Regions from separate parts of the Homo sapiens genome. Here region 2 is linked to region 1. The links are contacts of gene promoters, found by promoter capture Hi-C in blood cells and fetal thymus (Javierre and others, 2016). All regions are on one chromosome and are shown on one strand. Each heading gives the region's core, a stretch centred on a gene start or on the middle of the fragment in contact. The rest is flanking DNA. Distances are from core to core; before and after follow the strand shown. Region 1 holds the start of CHST7 (carbohydrate sulfotransferase 7). Region 2 has its middle 33 kb from the start of SLC9A7.

The links. The method cuts DNA at HindIII sites, captures the fragments that hold promoters and counts their contacts. A CHiCAGO score of 5 or more calls a contact.
Region 2: a contact is called between a fragment that was not itself captured here and the fragment with the promoter of CHST7 in region 1, in 7 of 17 cell types (M1 macrophages, M0 macrophages, M2 macrophages and 4 more). The highest score is 7.4, in M1 macrophages.

The regions. Positions count from the first base shown.
Region 1 is chrX:46,569,173-46,575,940 of GRCh38, forward strand. CHST7 (carbohydrate sulfotransferase 7) reads left to right here and starts at 4,593. Exons shown (of 2, transcript NM_019886.4): 1 at 4,593-6,251. The coding sequence starts at 4,760. The coding sequence ends at 6,220. RefSeq lists silencers at 5,611-5,660, 5,781-5,840. The HindIII fragment of the contact is 5,347 bases long and covers 2,823-6,768 here.
Region 2 is chrX:46,789,355-46,795,526 of GRCh38, forward strand. No RefSeq gene overlaps it. Among named protein-coding and RNA genes, the nearest start is that of SLC9A7, 33 kb to the left of the region's middle. The HindIII fragment of the contact is 1,843 bases long and covers 1,135-2,977 here.

The DNA of each region.
Region 1 (6,768 bases), core at 3,343-5,842:
CCAGGTTCTGCCTTCAAGCTGTTAACCTTGGACTGGGGCTGTGGCCTGAAGGAAGGGGTACTTATTTGAATGGGGTCAGCCCCCTTGCAATTCATCTGTCTGGAGGGGGCACTTTCTGATTCTCACAAGGGTACTGTATGTGTTAGCAGCAGCTATGCTAAAGGAGGATGCAAATAAATGGGACTTTAAAGAGAGAGAGATAGAGGAAGAAACAGAGAAAGAGATCAAACTGTTTAATTTTCACATCAGTGGAAATAATCTGGTTGAGAGGGTGTAGTTGAATAGGGAGGAGAAATGGTGATTGATAGGAGGGACCGGGGCCTACTCTATTGTACCACTCTATTGTGAAAAATGGATAGCAGATCTAGTAACTTAGATGTGATAGAAATCACTTAATAGAAAACAACTTTAATTCTGATTGAGTTTTCCTTCTGCTAGGATGACAGACCATTGATTGACCTTATTAATTCCTAGGGTTCCTCTACTCCCAAGGTTGTATGTACTCTTGATCTGGGGTCTTAGAATCATTGGGTTTTTGGCTCACCTAGTTGCCCTGAGATGTCTCCATCACTGTCACTTGACCCTTCTGCTGCTTCCAAGCTATGCCTGGGGCCCAGGAAGGTTTGGCACAGTGCCCCTGATCATCTCTGTCAAGCTGAACCATGTGGCCACTTCTCTTTGACTCCTGCTCTGCCCTGACACATTGCCAGGAAAAAGAGTTCAGGTGCCCTGGGCTGCAGGATCCATAGACTTCTCCCTTTGCCCACTCCTCCTAGCCTAAGGAAAATGTCTCAGTGGGGTTGGGGGCACTAGAGTGCTGCTGCTCTTTCTTTTGCTTCTCCAAAACATTTCGTCTAAGCCCTCACACCTTCTTTATATCAGCTAGCTTTTGCTACAAAACAAACCCCTAAAACTTACATCTATTATTTCTCACAATTTGGTGGGTCAGCTCAGTTAGGGCAGGAAGGTGTAGCACCTTTCTACTCTAAGTGTGGTCCTCAGACCAGGAGCATCAGAAGCACCCAGGAGCTTATTAGAAATGTAGTCTCAGGACCCAGTGCAGTGGCTCGTGCCTGTAATCCCAGCAATTTGGGAGGACGAGGCAAGAGGATTGCTTGAGGCCAGGAGTCCAAGACCAGCCTGGGCAACATAGCAAGACCCTACAATTTTTTTTTTTTTTTTTGAGATGGAGTCTCACTCTGTCGCCCAGGCTGGAGTGCAGTGGCACGATCTTGGCTCACTGCAACCTCTGCCTCCCGGGTTCAAGTGATTCTTCTGCCTCAGCCTCCCGAGTAGCTGGGACTACAGGCATGTGCCACCACACCTGGCTAATTTTTGTATTTTTAGTATAGATGGGGTTTCACCATATTGGCCAGGCTGGTCTCCAACTCCTGACCTCGTGATCCGCCTGCCTTGGCCTCCCAAAGTGCTGGGATTACAGGCGTGAGCCACCGCGCCCAGCCTAAAAAAAAATTTTTTTTAATTAGCCAGGCATGAGAAGGATTGCTTGAACCCAGGAAGTTGAAGCTGCAGTGAGCTATGATCACGCCACTGCACTCCAGCCTTCCACCAGCCTGGGTGACAGAGGGAGAGAAGACCCTGTCTATTTAAAAAAAGAAGAAGAAAGAAGAAAGAAGAAGGAGAAGAAGAAAGAAAAGAAATGTAGTCTCTCTGGCCCCACCCTAGGTGTAATGAATCATTTTCTGCTTTTTTTTTTTTTTTGAGATGAGGTCTCACTCTGTCACCCAGGTTGGAGTGCAGTGGCATGACCTCGGCTCACTACAATCTCCACCTCCTGGGCTCAAGTGATCCTCCCGCCTCAGCCTTCCAAGTAGTTGGGACTACAGGTGCACGCCACCATGCTTGGTTAACTTTTTTTGTGTTTTTGGTAGAGACGGGGTTTCACCATGTTGCCCAGGCTGGTCTTGAACTCCTAGGCTCAGGATACCCACCCGCGTCGGCCTCCCAAAGCGTTGGGATTACAGGTGTGAGCCACTGGGCCAGGCCCACTTTCTGCATTTTGACAGGAGCCTTCAAGCATTAAAGTTTGAGAAGCACTGGTCGAGGATCTATCTCCTTTCTCACCTGTCTGGCGGTCAGCAGGCTTGTTTGTCTGGGGGGTGGGGGGCCTCAGCTGGGAGGGCTTATTTTCTGAGCCATGTTGCTAACCCAGGCTTCTTCACGAGCCGATCTCAGGGTTCCAAAGAGCAGGATGAGGGCAATTCCCACAGCAGGAGTATTTTTCAAACCTTTGCTGTGTCATGTTTGCTACTGTCCCACAGGCCAATGCAAGCCACATGGTCATCCCAGAGTCAGTATGGGAAGGCATTGCCCAAAGGCAAAACAGAGGAGGGGAATACTTTGTGGTTATTTAAAAAACCTATCACACTTTCCACTATCAGAGTTGAGGCTTTTGGAGCGGAGGGCGGGGGGTGGGGGGAAGCGGGAAACACCAGCAACTATTTGCATTCTGCCCAGCCACACCTCTCCCCTCACACCAGCACAGAGCCACCTACTTGCTTAAAAGATGAGAGGAGGCCAGGCACAGTAGCTCAGGCCTGTAATCCCAGCACAAGGCCGAAGTGGGAGGATCACTTGAGCCCACGAGTTCAAGACCAGCCTGGGCAACATACAGACCCCGGTCTCTACAAAAAACAAACAAACAAACAAAATTAGCTGGGTGTGGTCCACATGCCTGTGGTCTCAGCTGCTTGGGAGGCTGAGGTAGGAAGATCGCTTGGGCTTGAGAGGTTGAGGCTGCAGTGAGTGGTGATAGTGCCACCGCACTCCAGCCTGGGTGACAGAGCCAGACCCTGTCTCAAAGCTTTTTAAAAAAGCCAGAGAGGAGGGAAAAGTGAAAACAGAAGGGAAAGTTGTAGATTAATATTGCAAAATCATATCCTTGCTATAAACGAGATGTGTACAGAGGTCAATGCATATATGAGTTTGGTAGTGGAAAAGTGAGAGATCGTCTAACATGGTTTCTTTATGAAGTAGGCAGTAAGGTCATGTGCTGAGAAGAGGTGGGTGGGGGAAGAGGGGTATCAGAAGTCTGAGGAGACTAGAGAAGGTTTGAAATCATCATAATGGAACTGGAGACTGGGAAGTGACATGAAGAACCTAAGATTTCAGCAACCATTTCAGGTTGATGATTATGAGGTTATCTTGATGCTGATCTGTTCTGTGGGCTCCCAAAGTGCTGAGATTACAGGCGTGAGCCACTGTGCCTGGCTCACACCTGTGGAGAAATGTTTCGCAGTGGTGTTTGCAGGCACAGAGAAAGCCAAAAGCAGGGTTTGGGGGATTTTGCTAGATGAGTAATGAAAAGGCAGAGGGCACGTGAGTTTAGCTTATTGGAGGGAGTGTTATTAAAATAATGGTATGGCATCTTTCAGCTGAATATGAAAAATTGAGAAGAAAGTGGGGGTGGTGGTCAAAAAGTGGAGGTTGGAGAATAGGGAAGATTTGAACAACTGGCTGGAAGAAGAGGGGAATTGTGGAAAGAAAACGAAATGCTTGAGTCAGTGGTTTCACAGGTGGAGTAGCTTCCGTGATGAAAAAGACCAGTGGAGAGCATTGCATATGTTCTCACTCTTCCAATTTGAACACCTTCCCCTGGTGGAGATAAGTAGATATGCTTTCTATGTTTTATTAACTTTACAACACCTTCCCCAAGCTGGTGAAAGGAAGCTCTCACTTCCTTATTCATTAGCCTGATGAAACAGAGCAAAATGTATCTTTTTTGGTTCTGTTTTGAATTTTAGTAACTCTAGTCTTCATCTGCCTGTTGGACTTCCTGTCTCTTTTTCATCTATCTTTGGGTACACATTTCTTCTTACGGGTCCTTTTAAACACCGAGCTCCTGAGAAAGGTCACCATTCTACCACTTTGATTCTGTAAATGTCTTTTGCTCATAGGTGTCAGAATAGGCTGGGTTATACTGTGGTAACAACCCCCAAATCTCGCAATCCCAGGAGGTACATGGGTACTAAGAATTATTCACATTTTACAAATGACCAAACTGGGCCCCAGAGTATTGGTAAAATGTGCAGAGCCCATCAGCTGGTGAAACCCTAAGGAACACAACACTTAGAATTTCACAAAGGCTAGACTTTATGAAATGTGCTGCGTGGATGCAGTAGTATCTCCAACCCCCCTGGACCGCTCTGCCACGTACAATCTTCTATCTTTCAGTCCGGAACTCAGTAACACCCACTCCAGGGCTGATGGGGGCGCTGGATGTATAGTGGCGAGTGTTTATCTGCCTAGGATAGCGATGGCTAGGCAGGGGACATAAAACAGAAGAGGCAGTGACCTTCTCCGGGTGGGGTCTATGGCCCTTTACTGGGTACATTCTGTACACACAGGCCCCTCCTTTGCCTGAAGTCATTGATGAAGACTTCATTACGGAGGGTTTGGGGAAAGGTGGGGGTCTGGCTGGGTAAGCCGGCGTCCCAGCCCCGCTACAGCCCCGCCCAGATCTGGCAGAGCCGTGGGCGAACCCAGGCGGGCAGAAAGGCGGGGCGGGCGGCTGCCAAGCCGGCCAATAGGCGGCTCTCCGGCTGCTAAGCCGAGAGGGCAGGGGCGCCGTCAGTAGCACCACCGCCTTCCAAGTTTCCCCTTGTGGATGCGCGGCCCCGCGGCTCTGCTCCTCCCGGCGCAGAGGGGCCGGGAGAGGCCACAGGAGCGGACCTGGCACGGGATTTCTGAGGAACGGGAGAAGACTGGCGCCCGACCCGCTCTGGAGGGTCGGTGAACGATGAAGGGCCGGCGGCGGCGACGCCGAGAGTACTGCAAGTTCGCGCTGCTGTTGGTGCTGTACACGCTGGTGCTGTTGCTCGTCCCCTCCGTATTGGACGGCGGCCGCGACGGGGACAAGGGCGCCGAGCACTGCCCCGGCCTGCAGCGCAGCCTGGGAGTGTGGAGCCTGGAGGCGGCGGCGGCCGGCGAACGCGAGCAGGGAGCGGAGGCGCGGGCCGCCGAGGAAGGGGGCGCGAACCAGTCTCCTCGGTTCCCAAGCAACCTCAGCGGCGCTGTCGGGGAGGCAGTGTCTCGCGAGAAGCAGCACATCTACGTGCATGCCACCTGGCGCACCGGCTCGTCCTTCCTGGGCGAACTCTTTAACCAGCACCCGGACGTTTTCTACTTGTATGAGCCCATGTGGCATCTATGGCAGGCGCTGTATCCGGGCGACGCCGAGAGCTTGCAGGGCGCGCTGCGCGACATGCTGCGTTCGCTCTTCCGCTGCGACTTCTCCGTGCTGCGGCTGTACGCGCCGCCGGGGGACCCCGCTGCGCGCGCCCCGGACACGGCCAATCTTACCACGGCCGCCCTCTTCCGCTGGCGGACTAACAAGGTCATCTGCTCGCCGCCACTGTGTCCTGGCGCACCCCGTGCCCGGGCCGAGGTGGGCCTCGTCGAGGACACCGCCTGCGAGCGCAGCTGCCCACCCGTGGCGATACGCGCCCTGGAGGCCGAGTGCCGAAAGTACCCGGTGGTGGTCATCAAGGACGTGCGCCTGCTCGATCTGGGCGTGCTGGTGCCCCTGTTGCGTGATCCAGGCCTCAACCTGAAGGTGGTGCAGCTTTTCCGCGACCCGAGGGCGGTGCACAACTCGCGCCTCAAGTCTAGGCAGGGACTGCTGCGCGAGAGCATCCAGGTGCTGCGCACCCGCCAGAGGGGCGACCGCTTCCACCGTGTGCTGCTGGCGCACGGCGTGGGTGCTCGCCCCGGGGGCCAGTCTCGCGCGCTGCCCGCCGCGCCGCGCGCCGATTTCTTCCTGACCGGTGCGCTCGAGGTGATCTGCGAAGCCTGGCTGCGCGATCTGCTTTTCGCGCGCGGCGCGCCCGCCTGGCTGCGGCGCCGCTACCTGAGGCTGCGCTATGAGGACCTGGTGCGGCAGCCACGCGCCCAGCTGCGCCGCCTGCTGCGCTTCTCCGGGCTACGCGCGCTCGCAGCGCTCGATGCCTTCGCGCTCAACATGACTCGCGGCGCGGCCTACGGCGCCGACCGGCCCTTCCACCTGTCAGCGCGCGACGCCCGGGAGGCGGTGCACGCCTGGCGCGAGCGCCTGAGCCGAGAGCAGGTGCGCCAGGTGGAGGCCGCCTGCGCTCCAGCCATGCGTCTGCTCGCCTACCCTCGCAGCGGAGAGGAGGGCGACGCGGAGCAGCCCAGGGAAGGGGAGACGCCGCTGGAGATGGATGCCGACGGCGCCACGTAGCCTCCCATCCCTGTCCCCGGCACGGATCCGGGTAAGGTGGCCCGGGGCAAGGCAGGGACCGGGACTGGTCTTCCGGGAGCCTGGAATGGCCTGGGGAGGGGGAAGTGTAGGGGGGAGGGTACCATGCTGGATCCCATTCTATCAGATCAGGTCCAAGAGGATGGGAAAGTCCTGCTCGTAGAATTTGGTAGATTCATCGGAATCTCCAGCTTAGCCTCGCGCCTCCTTAGAGGGAGATCCTGAGATGAGAGAGGATATTTAGGCGTGACTGAGGTGGAAGCCAGGTCTCTGCATTCCCATTCCCCTGTATGAAGTAGGAGGTTTCAGAGGGCTGAGGAGAGTAGAGAAGGTTTGAAACAGTCATAATGAGCCGTGAGACTGGGAATTGACATGTGGAGTATAGGATTTCGGAAACCATTTGAGGTTGATGATTATGGAGTTATCTTGATGCCAGTTTGTCCTGTGAGGAGACTTTGCAATGGTGTTTACAGGCACAGAGAAAGCCAAAAGCAGAGAGTTTGGTGGAAAGGCATTGATTCTAACCCTAC
Region 2 (6,172 bases), core at 806-3,305, 220 kb after region 1:
TTCTTTTTTTCTTTTTTCTTTTTCTTTTCTTCTTTCTTTTTGATGGAGTTTCGCTCTTGTCACCCAGGCTGGAGTACAGTGGTGTGATCTCAACTCACTTCAACCTCTACCTCCAGGGTTCAAGCAATTCTCCTGCCTCAGTCTCCCGAGTAGCTGGGATTACAGGTGCCCACCACCATGCCCAGCTAATTTTTTGTATTTTTAGTAGAGACAGGGTTTCGCCATGTTGGGCAGGCTGGTCTTGAACTCCTGACCTCAGGTGATCTGCCCACCTCAGCCTCCCAAAGTGCTGGAATTACAGGCGTGAGCCACCTTGCCCAGCCTGCTAACTTCTTTTTATATGCTTTAGATCAGTCATCATCTGTATGTTCTCTCTTTCCATCTGAACCAAATTCTTGACTTTCCTCAATCCTATGGCTATGTGATTCCTAAAGTGTCTAAAACAGGCTGGGCACAGTGGTTCACGCCTATAATCTCAACACTTTGGGAGGCCGAGGCAGGTGGATCACTTGAGGTCAGGAGTTTGAGACCAGCCTGGGCAACATTGTGAAACCCCATCTCTACTAAAAATACAAAAAATTAACCGGGTGTGGTGGTGGGCGCCTATACTCCCAGACACTCGAGATGCTGAGGGTAGAAGGATCACCTCAGCCAGGGAGGTCAAGGCTGCAGTGAGCCATGGTCATGCCACTGCACTCCAGCCTGGGCGTTAGGAGTAAGACCATGTCTCAAAAAAATAAAGTAAAATAAGTAAAGTGTCTAAAACACTATGATCATTTTTCTTCCATGTCAACTTATCCTAAATTACTGACCTGGTCTTCTGTAAGTACTTAATGTTGGTGAGCATTGTGCTCCAAACTGAGCGCCCAAAGTGTATACCAAAGCATATTACGGGTTGGATGATCAGACTGGACTCTAAGCTCAATCTATGCAATAAAAGCTGAATGGAGAGTAAAGCCATATCAAACCTTAAGCTAGCACAGAGAGACAACCTGACTAGGCAGAAAATGTATGAGCATTCAAGACACTGGGCCCAGTCAAGGGCAAAGTTGGTAGGAGATAACATGGAGGTAAAATTCAGGAGTCCAGATAATGTCACACATTTGGGTCCCTAAGAAGCAGACACTGAGACGAAGCTTAGTTCGCAAGATATTTATTAAAGAGCGTCCTTACAGACAACACCTGCAATGGAAAGGGAAGGATGGAGAACAGGTCAGACAGAAAAGTCAAGCTGCAAAATAGGCCCAACGGTCTCAACCAGCCTCATGAGAAACGATAGAAATAAAATGACCCTTCAGAGTTGTCTAAGGCTGGGCCAAAAAGACCAGGCCTTATATTCCCGCATCCATCAGTCACTGGATATGAGCCACCAGGAGGTGCGTCATCACCTTGAACGGGGCGACTCTGCAACTGAGGCAATCTCTGAAAGGGCCAAGAGCTGAAGGCTGCCTACCTATAGCTGTCCTAGCAACTGGGACGAGTTTCTCCTTGGTGGGAGACCTGAGAGGTGGATGACAGTGTTAACCACAGACAGCAATTTGGAGACCTTATGTTCCTTTAAAACGCTTAAGTTCCTGCTCCTATAGGTTTGCCTGAATCAATTTTTTTTTTTTGAGCCAGAGTCTCACTCTGTCGCCCAGGCTGGAGTGCAGTGGTGCAATCTCAGCTCACTGCAGCCTCCGCATCCTGGGTTCAAGTGATTCTCCTGCCTCAGCCTCCTGAGTAGCTGGGACTACAACTGCACACTGCCACATCCAGCTAATTTTTTGTATTTTTAGTAGAGACGGGGTTTCACCATGTTGCCCAGGCTGGTGTCAAACTCCTGAGCTCAGACGATCCACCCACCTCAGTCTCCCAAAGTACTGGGATTACAGGCATGGGCCACTGCACCCGGCCCTCCTGAATCAATCTTAAATGCAGGGCCCCAAGCTCAGTCTCTGACAGCAATTCTACAGTGTTTCTTTCAGTCACCTCTGAGATTGGAGTTCTTTTTTTTCCGTCATTTTTGTCCAGTCTGATTTATTATTTGGGAATCATGACATAACTTTGCAGCTATAAACACATAGAGCTTAACATGTTGTGGCAATTTAAAAACATGTCCACAGGCCGGGTGCGGTGGCTCACGCCTGTAATCCCAGCACTTTGGGAGCCCAGGCAGGCGGATCACTTGAGGCCAGGAGTTTGAGATCAGCCTGGCCAACATGGTGAAACCCCGTCTCTACTAAAAATACAAAAATTAGCTGGGTGTGGTGGTGGGCACCTGTAATCCCAGCTACTGGGTGGGGGGAGGGGCTGAGGCAGGAGAATCACTTGAAGCTGGGAGGCGGAGGTTGCAGTGAGCCAAGATCATGCCCTTGCACTCCAGCCTGGGTGACAGAGCAAGACTGTCTCAAATAAATAAATAAATATATGTCCACAAATTCTTTGATTCTTCTTCCATTGAGAAGTGTGGCTTATGCACCTTTTCTTTGAACTGGGACAGGATTGTGACTGGTTTGTAGCCGCTAGAAAGAGGAAGAAATGATGCCGCATGACTTCCAAAGCTAGGCCAGAAAAGGCGAGGCAGCTCCTGACTTCTTCCCTGGGACTTTGACTTTTGAGTCCCTAATTCACCATGTAAAAAGTTGGATTATCCTGAGGCCACCATGCTGTGGGACAGTCCAGGCCATATGGAAAGGTCACATAGAGGTGTTCTAGTCAGCACTCTCAGCTGAGGTCCCAGCCAACATTCAGACACGTAAATGGAGATACTTCCTTGTGGTTCCAGCCCCCAGCCGCTGAGTCACCCCAGTCATCAAGTCTTCCCAGCTGAGGCCCTAAACATCGTGGAGCAGAGACAATGGACTCCCACTGTGTGCTTTGTCTGAACTCCTGACCCACAAAATTAGTGGGCATAATAAGGTGGTTATTGTAAGCCTCGAAGTTTTGGGGTAATTTATTACCAAGCAATTAGGTAGCCAGAACACGCAGGATACAAAGCTTACTATGAGCAATGATAAATGCTCTGGACAGCCTGTGCACGCTTATAGAATATGTTCTGTGTGTCTTTTGGCTCTGCAGGGACCTGGAAATGACTCAAAGAAATTCTTCCTTTGGAAGAATTAAAAAGTAGAATTTCTAGATTTAAAGCCTAGTTTTTGGAGGTCTACTGTGTGCTTTGCTTCAAGAGGCAAGTTTGTGACAAATGAAGCCCAGCCATTCTAAAAAAATCCAAGCATGTAGATGCCTCAGAGGATGTAGGAAATTAGTCATTAACCACACAAGTTTAGTTCCTGATCCAAAATACTGTGTGCATGTTTTGCAATTTAATCTGGTTGGCACTGGATTTTTGTTTCATTTTGCATTGACTAAACATAAGATACAGGTTGGCCCAGTTGCGTTAGTCATAAAATATATCAAGCCATCTTAGTTAAATAGCTTTTAAAGCTAAGAATTTTCTCTCTGGATAAAATAATCTCATTTAGATAATGTTTCCAGATACCTCCAAGTGAGCGTGAATATCAGTGTTTGAGCAATCCAAATGAAGGAAGTCCTTTTATTTTCATAGCAGCTAAGATAATTTATATCATTAACAAACAGAAGAAGTGAGGAATTCCACTTTCGGTTTTAATTAGAATGTAAAGACTCATTAAATGGAAGGAACTGAAAACCACCATCTTCAACAGGTCATAATGTACCCAATGTAACAAGTAAAATGCCTCGGGAAATTGCAGAGCGAAATTTTCCTGGTGCTCAATATGGTTTAAATTCTAGGGGTTGGATTAAGGAAAATATCTACCTTATTACCTATAATGTCTCCCTACTTATTCTAATCAGATACTTTAGAGAAATTGTTGGAGATCACTTGCCAGAAACATACCTCAAGGTTTCCATCTCACCTCTGAAAAGTGACTTAGAAGAAAAGTGACTTTTGACTCCAGTCAAACTGTTTTCTTCTAAACCCTTGACGTCAACAATTTTTACTTAACATGAAACCTATATATTGCAAACAATTTCTCTTCCTACTTAATGATATTGGGGGATGATATTGGGGGATCTTCCCGATAATACTATGGTAGGACAAGTTGAAAGAAGAAAAACCTCAAAAAGGTATTCTTTGTCACTTCAGTCAGTAGGCAGCATTTGATCCTGAGGTTACAGGGCTGAGAAAATGAAATGGAGAAAATATGTATTGAAGGCTTAGAGGTGGCAGGAACTATTATTATCACATAGAGAACTAAAGCCGAGAGATAGTAACCTGCGCAAGATCATGTAATCAGGAAGGGGTAGGGCCAAACTTTGAACACTGGGGCACCTTTGACTAGGAAGCAGTACTGCTTCTTGGAACAGAGCTTATGAAAAACGGGGCCTAGAAACAGTAGGAAACATTTGAATACACAAGAGTATGGTTACCCCCTATCACATCCAAGGAAAAACAGAGGAATCAGGTAGATCATGAGCTGGTTGTTTTGCATCTTTCTATTCCATTTCTTCTGTATTCACTCATCAATTCTAGCATTTGTCTCTCTATGCCTTGTTAGCCCACTCATCCTCCACTTTCCTAATCACCCTTCCTATAGCCTATGCACTTTGAACACAGAGACCCACCCCACTCCATCCTAGTTGCTAGGAGAACTTAACAAGGTAAGGTATTTCACAATAGAACTGTGTAAATTGTAAAGTGCCATTTAAATGTGAGGTATTATTATTATTTATACTAATTTGATGTTGCGTCCTGTTCTACCACATTGCCTGGAATGGAATCTAATTCTTCTTCTTTTTTTTTTTTTTTTTGAGACAGAGTCTCGATCTGTCACCCAGGCTGGAGTGCAGTGGTGCAATCTCGGCTCACTGCAGCCTCCGCCTCCCTGGTTCAAGTGATTCTCCTGCCTCAGCCTCCTGAGTAGCTGGGATTACAAGCACGCGCCACCACGCCTGGCTAATTTTTGTACTTTTAGTAGAGACGGGGTTTCACCATGTTGGTCAGGCTGGGCTGGAGAGTTTTTTGTTTTTTTTTTTGTGGTAAAACACACTTAACATAAAATGTACTTTTTTTTTTTTTTGAGACAAGGTCTCACCCTGTCACCCAGGTGCAGCAGTGCAGTGACACGATCATGACTCACAGTAGTCTTGATCTCCTGGGCTCAAGGTATCCTCCTGCCTCAGCCTCCTGAGTAGCTGGGACCACAGGCACGCACTACCATGCCTGGCTAATTAAAAAAAAATATGATTATTATCTCTATTTGAGACTGAGTCTTGCTCTGTCACCCAGGCTGGAGTACAGTGGTGCAATCTCGGCTCATTGCAACCCTCTGCTTCCCGGATTCAAGCGATTCTCCTGCCTCAGCCTCCCAAGTAGCTGGGACTACAGGTGCCCGCCACCACGCCCAGCTAATTTTTGTATTTTTAGTAGAAACAGGGTTTCACTATGTTGGCCTGTCTGGTCTCGAACTCCTGACCTTGTGATCCACCTACCTCGGCCTCCCAAAGTGCTGCAATTACAGGTGTGAGACACCTCGCCTCACTATGTTGTCCAGGGTGGTCTTGACTTCCTGGGCTCAAGTGACCCTTCTGCCTCAGCCTCCCAAAGTGTTGTGATTAAAGGCCTGAGCCACCACCCCTACCAACATGTACTATCCTAATCATTTCTTTATAAGGATATAGTTCAGTATCGATAAATATATTCACATTGTTGTGCATCCAATCTCCAGAACATTTTCATCCTGCAAAACGAAAATTGTAAGGCCAGGTGCGGTGGCACATGCCTGTAATTCCAGCACTTTGGGAGGCTGAGGCAGGTGGATCACTTGAGGTCAGGAGTTCAAGACCAGCCTGGCCAATGTGGCAAAACCCTGTCTCTACTAAAAATACAAAAATTAGCTGGGTGTGGTGGCGGGCGCCTGCAATCCCAGCTACTCGGGAGGCTGAGATAGGAGAATCACTTGAACCCAGGAGGTGGAGGTTGCAGTGAGCCGAGATCACGCCACTGTACTCCAGCCTGGGCAACAAGAGCAAGACTCCATCTCAAAAAAAAAACGAAAACAAAAAACAACTAAAACTGTATATCCATTATCCATTAAACACCAACTCTCCATTTTCCCTTCCCCTCAGCTCTTGGTAACCACCTTCTACTTTCTGTCTCTATGAATTTGACTACTCTAGGTACATCATATAAGTGGGATCATACACTATT